5 separate regions of the Homo sapiens genome follow, and regions 2, 3, 4 and 5 are each linked to region 1. Evidence: promoter capture Hi-C in 16 types of primary human blood cells and fetal thymus (Javierre and others, 2016). All regions are on one chromosome and are shown on one strand. Each heading gives the region's core, a stretch centred on a gene start or on the middle of the fragment in contact. The rest is flanking DNA. Distances are from core to core; before and after follow the strand shown.

Evidence for each region. The method cuts DNA at HindIII sites, captures the fragments that hold promoters and counts their contacts. A CHiCAGO score of 5 or more calls a contact.
Region 2: a contact is called between the fragment with the promoter of KRTAP4-12 here and a fragment that was not itself captured in region 1, in 8 of 17 cell types (total CD4 T cells, naive CD4 T cells, naive CD8 T cells and 5 more). The highest score is 11.5, in total CD4 T cells.
Region 3: the fragment with the promoter of KRTAP4-2 here is called in contact with a fragment that was not itself captured in region 1 in 5 of 17 cell types (total CD4 T cells, naive CD8 T cells, activated CD4 T cells and 2 more); the score reaches 8.3 in total CD4 T cells.
Region 4: a contact is called between the fragment with the promoter of KRTAP4-6 here and a fragment that was not itself captured in region 1, in 6 of 17 cell types (non-activated CD4 T cells, total CD4 T cells, naive CD4 T cells and 3 more). The highest score is 8.3, in non-activated CD4 T cells.
Region 5: a contact is called between the fragment with the promoter of KRTAP4-4 here and a fragment that was not itself captured in region 1, in 2 of 17 cell types (total CD4 T cells and naive CD4 T cells). The highest score is 5.5, in total CD4 T cells.

Annotation. Positions count from the first base shown.
Region 1 is chr17:41,532,642-41,535,341 of GRCh38, reverse strand. No RefSeq gene overlaps it. Among named protein-coding and RNA genes, the nearest start is that of KRT19, 5.7 kb to the right of the region's middle. The HindIII fragment of the contact is 1,193 bases long and covers 785-1,977 here.
Region 2 is chr17:41,122,783-41,125,482 of GRCh38, reverse strand. It overlaps KRTAP4-12 (keratin associated protein 4-12), which reads left to right and starts at 1,301. Exons shown (of 1, transcript NM_031854.3): 1 at 1,301-2,392. The coding sequence starts at 1,361. The coding sequence ends at 1,966. RefSeq lists an enhancer at 1,621-2,174. The HindIII fragment of the contact is 5,176 bases long and covers 437-2,700 here.
Region 3 is chr17:41,176,871-41,179,570 of GRCh38, reverse strand. It overlaps KRTAP4-2 (keratin associated protein 4-2), which reads left to right and starts at 1,350. Exons shown (of 1, transcript NM_033062.4): 1 at 1,350-2,125. The coding sequence starts at 1,407. The coding sequence ends at 1,817. The HindIII fragment of the contact is 17,641 bases long and covers 1-2,700 here.
Region 4 is chr17:41,139,287-41,141,995 of GRCh38, reverse strand. KRTAP4-6 (keratin associated protein 4-6) reads left to right here and starts at 1,452. Exons shown (of 1, transcript NM_030976.2): 1 at 1,452-2,563. The coding sequence starts at 1,509. The coding sequence ends at 2,126. RefSeq lists an enhancer at 1,808-2,320. The HindIII fragment of the contact is 3,012 bases long and covers 1,028-2,709 here.
Region 5 is chr17:41,159,338-41,162,037 of GRCh38, reverse strand. It overlaps KRTAP4-4 (keratin associated protein 4-4), which reads left to right and starts at 1,290. Exons shown (of 1, transcript NM_032524.2): 1 at 1,290-2,389. The coding sequence starts at 1,347. The coding sequence ends at 1,847. The HindIII fragment of the contact is 13,067 bases long and covers 1-2,700 here.

The sequences.
Region 1 (2,700 bases), core at 132-2,631:
TAGCTCTCAATGCCCCCAGGCAGACATAATTCCCAGTGTCTACATACTTGATCACATTGATTGGTTTGAGGCATACCTCAATACTGGGTCAATAGCTCTAGCCTGATGGCCCACATGGTGGCTCCCACTCCAGCACCCCCTAAAGATCTTCCAGTTATTTCAGAAAGTCCCCAGGGGAATGCCTCGCATGTGCCCACAAGGTGGCTGCTGTCTTGCATAGAATACCCTCTGCTCTGCCACCAGCTGTAGCCCCACAGATCCACGCCACCACCTGGGAGAGCCTTGTTGTCTGTTGTGAGAACACCCAGGGGGGCCAACTTCAGATGCTTCCAGACGATGGATCCTTGGAGAACCAGAGTGGGAGGGCTTTCCTCAGGTGTAAGTCATCGGCTGCAAGGAGCTCTCCCTGTACTCAGACTCTTCCAAAGTTCTTCTTGTCCGTTTTGCCTTCTTGTTTCATAAAGAAGTAAAACTAGCCTGGCGGACCCAGGGGTGGGGGCACGAGGATGGAAACCCTTTCCAGGGTCTCTTTTCTCCTCACATCTAGTTCTCCCTCTTCCAAAACTTCCTCTCTCATTTCTCAATTCAAGGCTAGGGTTGGTGTGGATGAGCAGAGACAATGATGTCAGTGGTGAGTGCAGGGAGGGGAAGAGGGTATTGACTATATGAAATTTGGCTAGTTCTAAATGTCTGTGGTTTAGTGTTACTTAAGAAATTATTTACTTTAATTAACAAGAAATACTAAATACATTCTTATAAAACTTAAAACCATAGAGATTAAGCTTAGGTTCCTATTGGCTACCATCCTTCAATCAGATTCCTTCCTTACCTATGCATATATTCATACATATTCATATGGACCTTAGCAATAAGTCATCTTTTGAATGTATGTTGACATGAATTTATCATATTAAGTGTGTTGCTCTCCAACTAGATTTACTGTACCCAACAACTAGTTTTTTTTTTTTTTTCTTTTGAGATGGAGTTTCACTCTTGTCACCCAGGCTGGAGTGTAATGGCTCGATCTCAGCTCACTGCAAGCTCTGCCTCCCGGGTTCAAGCAATTCTCCTGCCTTAGCCTCCCGAGTAGCTGAGATTACAGGCACCCGCCGCCACGACTGGCTAATTTTTGTACTTTTAGTGGAGACGGGGTTTCACCATGTTGGCCAGGGTGGTCTCGAACTCCTGACCTCAGGTGATCCACCCACCTTGGCCTCCCAAAGTGCTGGGATTACAGGCGTGAGCCACCATGTCCGGCCCAATAACTAGTTCTTTAGGGTTTTCAGTGTCACTATTCATTGTCATTACTCATTCCATTTAATTTCTAGTCCTCCACAGCAGGATGTTACATAGTTACTGAACGCCTCCCCGCCATTAGTGATTGTTTGTGTCTTTGCACTGTAGCAAACAATGCTGCATAGGGCATCCTTTTATATGACTTCCTCAATACACGGGCCAGGGTTTCTTTCGGATGAACACGAAGAGTGGAACTGATGGCTCAAGAAGTGCATGAATGTTAAAAAAAATGATGACATTGTCAAATCGCTCTGCAAAGTGGTTACTACAACCCACCTCCCACCAATGTGTTTGAGGAGGTTCATTTACTCATGGCTTCTCTACACTTGACATCATCAAACGTTGTGAGCAGGCCAGTCTAATCAGGAAAAGTAAATCTCCTGTCTTCTCCTGAATTGGGGAGAGGTGGTCCCCTGGCTGCCTTAGTTGGGTAGGGGTCTGGGAGGGGGCCTGGTACTGTTGACAGAAACTTCCAGCCAGCCCTGCTTACGGTCCCTCTTCCACTTTTCCTCTCCATGTCTGTGGTGCCCCAATTCTTGAGCTTCTTTAGAGTATGTTGAGAATGTGCTTGCCTCTCACGGGCTTCCTGCTCTCTCCTCTGTTGACCCCTTCCTAATCCCCCAAACCCTGGGTCTCAGCTTTCTCTCATCTTCTGTGTTACCATTTTTGAGCTTTAAAGCTTTTGTTGACATTTCTCATCTTTGACCCTCCCTCCTTCCTTTCCTCCTTCCCTCCTTCTTTCCCTCCCCTCCTCCTTCCCTCCCTTCCTCCCTCCCTCCCTCCCTCCCTCCCTCCCTTCCTTCCTTCCTTCCTTCCTTTCTTCCTCCCTTCCAGCTGGGTCTTACTCTGTCACCCAGGCTGGAGTGCAGTGACGCAATCTTGGCTCACTACAGCCTCCACCTCCCAAGCTCAGGTGATCCTCTCACCCCAGCGTCCTGTGTAGCTGGTACTACAGGTGCACACAACCATGCCCAGCTAATTGTTTGCATTTTTGGTAGAGACAGGAGTTCGCCATGTTCCCTAGGCCAGTCTCAAACTCTTGAGCTCAAGCAGTCTGCCCGCCTCGGCCTTCCAAAGCGCTGGGATTACAGGCGTGTGCCACTGTGCCTCACCTCTTCTTCCATTCTCTTAAAATACTCCTTAACTGTCATATCATAGCAGGGTTTTAGGAAGGAGTCAAAATTGATGTAGCTATTGAACCTACCACATTTCACCAAAGCTAATACACTTCTATACACCCCCCTACCAGATTGTCAGCCTCTTAGAGGCAGGAAATATTTGTATTTACTTCTGTGCCCCAGCCCCTGGCAGCATGCGTAGCACAGAAGCTGCGCTTGATGCATGTTCACTGAATGAATGGAGGAGCGGGTGAGGAAGTTCCTTGTGCTGGTGGTCCCTGGGGAA
Region 2 (2,700 bases), core at 52-2,551, 410 kb after region 1:
TAGGAGTGAGAACATACCTTGCATCTTTTTAATTATAAATAATTGTTTTTAAATATCAGGAGGGATTTAATTGCAAAATGTTCATGCGCAAAATGTTCCTTGAACACTCTAGGAGAGACGCCCTTTCCCTGTTACAGACTGTGTGACTTCAATCTATCTGGGCCTCAAGTACCTTGGATGTAAAGAATTTAGAAAAATTGTGTCTACATAGCAGAATCCTTGTGAAGTATAAACAAGATAACAATTATAGAGGACTCAGAAAATTCCTGACACATAGTAAGCACTCAAAAAATTATAACTATTAGTATTGTTTCATCTTTCATTGGAAGTGTACAGATTAAATACATAATTGTTATTTTGTTCACTAATCACACCATTCTCTAAATAGTTGCTAAATTCTTTCCTATACATGTTTCTTATTTGTCTTGTTTAAGCTTCTGTAGGACAGAAATTAAACTTGATCCTTTGTTTCTTTTCTCCATGTATCAAGCAAAATATCTCCAACATACATTGTGAGAAAAAGCAGCTTTCGAGTATGAGAAAATCTACTTTCAATAACACTTCAGTTAAACACATTCAGTGGGTATCTTGACTTACCAACAAAATAGAACAAAAATGTTCCTTATGATCCCCATCTCTGAAGAACATGCCAACAATAATTTATAAAGGGACCTATCATGCCAATGTATTTTTACTTGTAAAGCAATGAATCATTGCATTATATCTGTTTCAAGCTAAATAGAGTCAATAACATGAAACAGGAATTTCAGTGGGATCTTTTATATCTCACTGACCAGCCACAAAATTCAAAGGAATCACAGTGTTCCTTATTATACACAAGTTACCTCCTATCACCCCCCAAAGATGAATCTTTCATCACATTTTCCTACCAGCATTCTATGTAATTTATTTTTAACCTCTTTGAGAGCAGAGGAGATTTAGTCATCATAAAATCTATTTTCAACTTATTATCCAGGAGTCAAATAAATAAAGAATTAACTTATGAAATCCAATCAAACAATGTCATGTAATGGGTCTACACATCAGAAGACACATCAGATGAAGGAAGGAGAATGAGAGCTGATTCACTTGGCTTAACCAAATTGGATAGCTCAGAATACAACAGGAAAAGGAAATGTTGCCTTTTCTATTTATAGAAATATTTACCAGATAAGGACAACTATCTAATTTACTAAAAAACAACTGATTCTCTATTAGTAATGTGCAAACCACAAGATTATTCACATTGTCATAGTGGTTCTCAGCAGGGTATAAAAAGCAAAAGAGAGAACAAGGAGAGATCAAACTCAGAACACTCACTCTCCTGGAAACCCACCGAGAACCTCCACCCTCTGACACCATGGTCAACTCCTGTTGTGGCTCTGTGTGCTCTGACCAGGGCTGTGGCCTGGAGAACTGCTGCCGCCCCAGCTGCTGCCAGACCACCTGCTGCAGGACCACCTGCTGCCGCCCCAGCTGCTGTGTGTCCAGCTGCTGCAGGCCCCAGTGCTGCCAGTCTGTGTGCTGTCAGCCCACCTGCTGCCGCCCCAGCTGCTGTCAGACCACCTGCTGTAGGACCACCTGCTGCCGCCCCAGCTGCTGTGTGTCCAGCTGCTGCAGACCCCAGTGCTGCCAGTCTGTGTGCTGCCAGCCCACCTGCTGCCGCCCCAGCTGCTGTCAGACCACCTGCTGCAGGACCACTTGCTGCCGCCCCAGCTGCTGTGTGTCCAGCTGCTGCAGACCCCAGTGCTGCCAGTCTGTGTGCTGCCAGCCCACCTGCTGCCGCCCCAGCTGCTGCATCTCCAGCAGCTGCTGCCCCTCTTGCTGTGAATCCAGCTGCTGCCGCCCCTGCTGCTGCCTGCGTCCAGTCTGTGGCCGAGTCTCCTGCCACACCACTTGCTATCGCCCAACCTGTGTCATCTCCACCTGCCCCCGCCCCTTGTGCTGTGCCTCCTCTTGCTGCTAAATCTCTGCTGTGAACACACCACTTCCTTATTACGTCCTTTCCTACAGATGAAGGCTCTCATTGCAAACATGCGGACTGTTCAAGAGAATTGATCTGGGTCCCATAAGCAAACCTCATCCTTAGAAATTCTGTATTTGCATTCTACCTTTTGTCCAAACTCCCTTCCTTCCAAAGGAATTCATTGACAATCTCCTAATAAATTGACAAATTGTCCTCCAACATCCTCCCACCTCTTTGACTTCAGGACATTTATTCATCATGCCTAAGGAATTTGAAGATTGCCTCCATCATTTGTAGGGCCACAGATCTTAAAGCCTCCAACCTTGAAGTCCAGTGAAGTCTCTCTCTTAAAGTCTTTTGCAAACATTTTTGTACCTTGTTATTTCCATGTACCAAAATAAACCTCTATTCTATTGGCACTGAAAATTGAATATGATTCTTATTCTCTTTTTAAAAAGGGTTTTATATTTAGGTCCTGGGTGATTACATTTAACTACACCTGTAGGGCTCACAGCACAGATTAGTCAACCTTCTAACAGAGGTCAACTGACATCGATCACTGCCTAGTTTTTTTCTAGAAAAGTCTTTTCAGGCTTAGGCAAATCAATTAGTCATTTTGTATTCTTTAGACAAAAAGAGTGAAGCTGAAGTCATGAAATATCCATGAATATAACAACAGGGGAAACGTTTTGAAAGATTGATCACAACTCATCATCTTTTAAAAAATAATTTCA
Region 3 (2,700 bases), core at 101-2,600, 360 kb after region 1:
AAGCACCTGAGAGAAGAAAGGGAATCTCCCTCATTCATCCAATCCCCTCCATCTGGTTCTTGGATCTCCCTCAGAAACACCAGCTTACACTGAAACTCCTCCCCTGATTATCTGCAGAGGCTGCCCAGTTCATAAAACATTTCTATCATGGTAAGTCAGACATTTTTCCACCCCCTTCCCTGGGTTCCTTGACTCCTCAGGGGTGGGGAAATACATATATATTTATTAACTGATGAGTTAATGAATTGACAACATAGCACATTTTTGAAACAATAGTCAGCCATCCCTACATGAAAAAATATAGGCTGATATCCTTTGTTCTTGATACCTGTTTTCTGCTTTCTTTCTCTCTTTATTGATTTATTTTTTGAAAACAAAGATGTAAAGTGTGAAATTGGATCAACAACTTCTATAAGGAAGCAGCAGAGTATAGGACATCTTCAAGGCCCAGCAATTCAGCAGAGAAAGCAAGAGGGCTGGGAGCGAATTAGAGCAAGCAAAGGATACTGAGTCATCTAATTTGGGTTGGCCAGAAAATTTTGGAACCTGGAGAGATGAGCTCATGTGCCCTGTTAGAGCTAGGAAGGCAGAAAGGCAAAGTCACAAGGAAAATCTGCCCCAGGGAGCAAAAAAATGAGGGACTTGGACCTTTAAGTATAGCTGTTCTCTGAAGCCAACATTCCCCAAGAGGCCCTGAATCTGAATTTTGGAGGGTTGTTTCTGTAGAAAAGGAAACATCAAACTTTCACAGCTTAGTTTTCCACCTTAAAACAGCTCTGTATTTCTCATCAGAAGGTCTAGAAAATGGGTCACAATTCAGAGTGCGGAAGATAAAAAAGCGATAGGTCCTACGGTGTTCTCGTTCTCACACCAGTGGTCATCTGTTTCACACTGAAATCTGTTTCACACTGAAACCTTCACAGGCCATCTGACCCATAATGAAGGAGCCATCAGACTGAAATGCAGCTTTATCCTCCTGAGTCACCAGAAAGAGTCAAGGGCCTGTAAGAATAGTAATCACCCAAGAGTAGTCATGATGTGTTAAGCAAATGAGACTGAAGCACATAGTATGTGCTTACAGGCAGATGTCACATGGCTGCTCTAGGAGGAAGCTATAGTAAGAGAGACACAGGAGGTGGTTCAGGAAGAGCTGAGCTAAGGAGTCCTAACACATTAGGGAAAGGAGACAGTGTTTCCATCTATGTGGATAAGTTAACCAGAACAACAAACTTGCCTAATTTGATAATTGCCTACATATCAGGACAAATAATAACAAGGAAAGAGTGTTGCATCTGATGACATCAGGCCTTAGCAGGGTATAAAAGAGGATCTGGGGCAAGGAAACTTCCAAACCTTCCAAACCCACCTTCCTGGAAATCCACCCAGAACCTCCACCCTCTGACACCATGGTCAACTCCTGTTGTGGCTCTGTGTGCTCTGACCAGGGCTGTGGCCTAGAGAACTGCTGCCGTCCCAGCTGCTGCCAGACCACCTGCTGCAGGACCACCTGCTGCCGCCCCAGCTGCTGTGTGTCCAGCTGCTGCAGACCGCAGTGCTGCCAGTCTGTGTGCTGCCAGCCCACCTGCTGCAGCCCCAGCTGCTGCCAGACCACTTGCTGCAGGACCACCTGCTGCCGTCCCAGCTGCTGTGTGTCCAGCTGCTTCAGACCCCAGTGCTGCCAGTCTGTGTACTGCCAGCCCACCTGCTGCCGCCCCAGCTGTGGCCAGACCACCTGCTGCAGGACCACCTGCTACCGCCCCAGCTGCTGTGTGTCCACCTGCTGCCGCCCAACCTGCTCTAGTGGCTCTTGCTGCTGATGCCCTCACCTATACTCACCTGCCTTTATTAACCAGCATTCTTGATATGATCCACCTGTGAACTGAATCATGCAAGGCCAATTGGACAACCTCAGTTCCAACCAATTCTTGGATTGAGTTTGGCCTCCAAATATGCTCACCAAACACTATGTTGCTACCCTCTACCAAATGAATACAAGTTTGAATTTTCTCTGAAATATGTCAACCCCATGTTCCCTGAATTGAAATATTTGCTCTCTACCATAATTTATCACATGGAGCTATTCCTCTATCTTAAATAAATTTTAATTTTTGAGGCATACAAATAATATACGGGCATTGTGTCTCATTTTTCCTTCTTGAATTCTCATCCTTACCTGTCAAATTTTCTGATGTTCTTCCCTGCAGAGGGAGAAGACCACAGCAGATGATATCAGGGGCTCCACCTCTATCCTATCAGCACTCTCCATTCAAACATAGGAAAATGGTTCCTTAGAGCAGGCACCTGGAACTCTCTACCTGAGGACTTTCTCTGGATAAAGGAGCAAACTCTGGGCTGGAGACTTAAAGCCTCTAGGAACAGCACTCAGAGAATGAGTGGGAGTTGGTAATATATGCCCTGGCTTGTTTCCCTCCAGTGGGGGGTATGTCAAACCAGTCTTCCAGAGGTCTTCAGCGGGATTTATACCAGATGCCTGCAGGAACATTCTGATCATGAACTCACTCTATAATGACTTTCCCTCCTTCCCAGGGTCATTCTTCAAGTTTCCTCCAGTGTTTCTTGGGTTAATCGTCCAAATATACCACATGTTCTCAGATCCTCTTTTGTGGGTTTGCCCCAGAGAGCACACAATCTAAAACAGCAGCATTCCTAATCTCAGTATTAGTGTCCTTCAAAATGTTT
Region 4 (2,709 bases), core at 203-2,702, 390 kb after region 1:
CCAACACATAAGAGGCAAGGGCTGGTGAAAGGAAAGTTAGTTCTAGTTGGAGAGCCAGTAAACCAGAGGATAACCTTGCTTTGTGTGAGGCCAAGAAAGATATTGGAGAAAAATGGCATTTGAACTAACTGGTAATGAATAACTAGAAGAATGCTAAGTGAAGGAAATAAAAACATTTCACCCCAAGATATATCTCACTGACATCCTTTAGCTAGTGAACTAGCATTCTAAAGTGCCATCTTAAATTTTAAAATTTGCCATAGGGTTTTGAAAGGGAAACTTGGCATGGGAGACATGCAGGGGTGGTGCAGGGTGCTGAGTCTGCATGTCTTGTTCCAATGGCTATCTTGGGTGTCCAGAGGTTTGGGAGGCATTATTTTGACTTCAGCCCAATGGTGGTGGATTAATTGTTCAAGATTCCCCCTAAGTGAGAGGATTCCTCAGGGCTCTGTGCCTGGTTTGTTTCAAGATTAGCCTCTGGAATTTCTTAAGCAAGAATATAATTAGATAAGATATTAGATAGTATTGCCAGAAGGGAGTGTGCAGAGGGAAGGAATGAAGAGGTGAGAGGGGAGGAAAGGAAGAGAAAGTGGGTGATTTTTAAAATTGAGGTCCACAGTTACATAAGTACCTGTAAGTTAAAGAATATATCTTTTATATTCCTCTCAATGCTTCTTAAAAAATCTTAGAAATAAGTGATACTAAAAAAAAACCCTGCTAGATGTTTTAGCTCAAAATGTATGAAAAAGATTTTAACAAAATGTCAATAAAGCATAACCATTACACATTTGATATTTCAAAAGGCAGATCAAAAACTATGATCCACATTACTCTACTTCAGCCTGTAGGACACTTTTGAAGACAGACGCAGCTCAAGCCCAGATGATGCTTTGTTCCTTAGAAACAGTGAGTCACTACTAACTGTTTCAAGGTGCACCAGAGTGATGAGAATTAACACAGCTTGCAATGACCTAGGAATTTAGTTAGCTCAATGGCCACCCAGAATACATACAATGAATCATAAGCTTCCTTATTTCTCACACTCAAAAACAGGAGCATATTTTCTTTTTTTCCTGTCAGCATTCCAGCTGATTGACACATGCATTTCTCCACTAGAGATCTTAGCCCAATCAGAAGCTCTCCCAAAACGATATCATGATGAGAAACAGACAAGTGACAGTGGCCCTCCCATGTCACATGATACCCAGAGACTGAAGTCATGTGACACTGAAACCAAGGAAAGGAAAACAAGAGGTGACTCATGTGGGAACACCAGGGTGAGAAAAGGGAAATAATCATTTTCTATATATTGGGATTTTTTACTAGAAAAACACAATATAATTTAGTAATTGCATTTGTGTCATATAAACAAAAACAAGGAAACAATCTTCTCATAATCACAAAGGCTCCTCAGCTGGGTATAAAAGGGGACATGCAGCAAGGAGACTCCCAAACTCACGAAACTCACTCTCTTGGAAACCCACCCAGAACCTTTACCCTCTGACACCATGGTCAGCTCCTGTTGTGGTTCCGTCTGCTCTGACCAGGGCTGTGGCCTGGAGACCTGCTGCCGCCCCAGCTGCTGTCAGACCACCTGCTGCAGGACCACCTGCTGCCGCCCCAGCTGCTGTGTGTCCAGCTGCTGCAGACCCCAGTGCTGCCAGTCTGTGTGCTGCCAGCCCACCTGCTGCCGTCCCAGCTGCTGTCCCAGCTGCTGTCAGACCACCTGCTGCAGGACCACCTGCTGCCGCCCTAGCTGCTGTGTATCCAGCTGCTGCAGACCCCAGTGCTGCCAGTCTGTGTGCTGCCAGCCCACTTGCTGCCGTCCCAGCTGCAGCATCTCCAGCTGCTGTCGCCCCAGCTGCTGTGTGTCCAGGTGCTGCAGGTCCCAGTGCTGCCAGTCTGTGTGCTGCCAGCCAACCTGCTGCCGTCCCAGCTGCTGCATCTCCAGCTGCTGCCGCCCCTCTTGCTGTGAATCCAGCTGCTGCCGCCCGTGCTGCTGCCGCCCCTGCTGCTGCCTGCGTCCAGTCTGTGGCCGAGTCTCCTGCCACACCACTTGCTATCGCCCAACCTGTGTCATTTCCACCTGCCCCCGTCCCTTGTGCTGTGCCTCCTCTTGCTGCTGAGCTCCTTGCCTGAAACTATCTCCTCCCCTTCAGCTCACTCCTCACAGAAGCAGACCTTGTGCATCTCATAAACAACTCAGAAGAGGCCATTCCCACCAACTGTGTTTCCATATCCTGGACATATATCTAGGATATATGTCCTGGCTATACATCTAGAATATATGTTCCCCATGTTGACCCAAGTGTGAAATTAGATATTATTTACAGAAAGAAATTAATAGAATTTACCAAATTTTATACCTTATATTTGTATTTATGGATACCAAGTTCTTCTGTCCCAAACATGGAAATTCTTGCAGGGTAACTCGGGGCAAGGTTGTCTCACTCTCAGATTTGAAAGTCTGATTGTTTCACCCTGTATTTCCTTTTACAGCAATGTTTCTGTATCTTATTTTTGCTGCTTCTGAATAAAACTCCACTTTTGTCGCATAGAAATACAATGTTCTTTTTGTGTTGCTTTGTAATGATTGTCCTTAGTTCCTGAGAAATTCCACCCAAAACACAACTGAACGAATCCTATTCTTGCTCTCACCTTCAAGAAAATTGCAACATGTAATGACCTAAAAAAAAGGCAATACATGGA
Region 5 (2,700 bases), core at 41-2,540, 370 kb after region 1:
CTATATTACCTATATATAAGGTTCTCTATCTACCCATCTATATATGTATAATATATATATATATTCCTAAGGTCCTTTGGCAGAATATATATATTCCCCCAAACCTGTGTGTGTGTGAGTGTATATATATATATACATATACATCAAAAGAAAATTATGGGCCTAGAAGAATTAAAATCACCCAAGGTCAGACATAATGTGTGTGTATGTGTGCGTGTGTGTGTGTATATATATATATATATATATATATACACACACACACGCACACATACACACACATACATACACACACATATATGTGTGTGTATGTGTGTATATTTATATATAGTGTGCATATTTATATATAGTGTGTATATTTATATATAGTGTGTATATACGTGTGTGTGTATACTATATATAGTATATATATGTATATATATAATATATATTATATATATATATATATATTATATATATATAGCAAGGACACTGGGTCCTTTACCTTAGGTTGGCAAGTAAACCTTAGAAATAGAGGAGATGACTCAATGTGATTGTTAAAGCCAGAGAGACAGGAAGGAAAAGTCAGAAGGAAAATCAGCCCCTCAGAGCAGAGAGCGGAGGGACCTGAACCTTTTAGTATAGCTGATCTCTGTAGCCAATTTCCCCTAAAGGCCCTGAAACTGAGTTTTGGAGTGTTGTTTCTCAAGAAAAAGAAGCATCGATAATTCATGACTTAGATGTCCACCTTAAAACAATTCTGCTTTCCCCAGTAGAACATCTAGAAAATGGGTCATGATTCATTGTATGGAAGGTGGCAAGGAATATATCCTAATAGTATTTGTTTTCATGCCACTGGTCACCTGTTTCACATTCAAACCTTCATTGCTCACTTGATCTATAACAAACATGCCATGAGATTAAAGCACAGCTTTCTCCTCCTGAGTCACCAAAAGAAAATTACGGGCCTAGAAGAATTAAAATCACCCAAGGTCAGACATAATGTATTAAGGAAAATGAGGCTGCAGCACATGGTACCTGCAGGCAGATGTCACATGGCAGCTCAAGGAGGAAGCTGCAGCAAGAGGCACACAAGAGGTTGTTCAAGAAGAGCTGACCTGAAGAATCCTAACACACCAGGGGAAGGAAATAATGCTTTTCTCCATGTTGACAAATTTAAGCAGAAAAACAAACTTGCCTAATTTGATAATTGCCTGCTCATCAGAACAAACAATGACAAGGAAAGAGTGCTGCATCCGATGACATCAGCCCTGAGCAGGGTATAAAAGAGGATCTGGGGCAAGGAGACTTCCAAGCCTTCCAAACCCTCCTTCCTGGAAACCCACCCAGAACCTCCACCCTCTGACACCATGGTCAACTCCTGTTGTGGCTCTGTGTGCTCTGACCAGGGCTGTGGCCTAGAGAACTGCTGCCGTCCCAGCTACTGCCAGACCACCTGCTGCAGGACCACCTGCTGCCGCCCCAGCTGCTGTGTGTCCAGCTGCTGCAGACCCCAGTGCTGCCAGACCACCTGCTGCAGGACCACCTGCTGCCACCCCAGCTGCTGTGTGTCCAGCTGCTGCAGACCCCAGTGCTGCCAGTCTGTGTGCTGCCAGCCCACCTGCTGCAGACCCCAATGCTGCCAGACTACCTGCTGTAGGACCACCTGCTGCCGCCCCAGCTGCTGCAGGCCCCAGTGCTGCCAGTCTGTGTGCTGCCAGCCCACCTGCTGCTGCCCCAGCTACTGTGTGTCCAGCTGCTGCAGACCCCAGTGCTGCCAGACCACCTGCTGCAGAACCACCTGCTGCCGCCCCAGCTGCTGTGTGTCCAGGTGCTACAGGCCCCATTGTGGCCAGTCTCTATGCTGCTAGCCCATCTGCTGGCAAACCACCTGCTACAGGACCACCTGCTGCCACCCCAGCTATTGCATTTCCAGCTGCTGCCAGCCTTCCTGCAGTATCTCTAGCAGCAGTAGCTCCTCCTGCTGTGGCTTCAGCTGCTGCAGGCTCTCCTGCTGCATCTCCAGTTGCTGCCGCCCCAACTGCTGCCAGACCATGTGCTGCCGCCCAACCTGCTCTAGTGCTTCTTGCTGCTGAGGCTGTCATCTGGACTCACCAGATTCTCATCAACCAGCATTCTTGATGTAGCTCATCTATGAGCTGAGTTATGGGAAGCTAGTTGGAAAACTTCAGTTCCAACCAATTCTTAGATTGAATCTGGCCTCCAAATATATGCTCCCCCCACATTTTACCTCTCTACCAAATGAACATAAGTTGTAATTTGCTCTGAAATCTGTCAACTATCTTAATTGAAATATTTGCTCTCTGCCATAATTTCTCATATGGAGCTATTCCATTTTAAACAAATATTTATCTAAATAAATCTTAAATAAATTTTCAGGCATAGAAATATACAGATACTGTGTCTCATTATTTTTCTTTTTTGAGTGTGGTCAATTACCAGTCAATTTTTCTGTTGTTCTTCTCTGCAGAATGTAATTTCAGGGGCACCACCTCTATTTCCTCAGCACACTTTATTCTAATATACAATGGTGGTTTCTTAGAGCAAGCACCTGGAACTCTCTTCTTGAAGAGTTTCTCTAGCCAAGGAGCAAGCTCTGGACTGTAGAGTTAAAGCCTCTTGGAATAGTATTCAACAAATGAGTGAGAGTTGGTGAACACATGCTTTAGTTATTTCTCCTCCAGTTGGGAGCATGTTGTACCA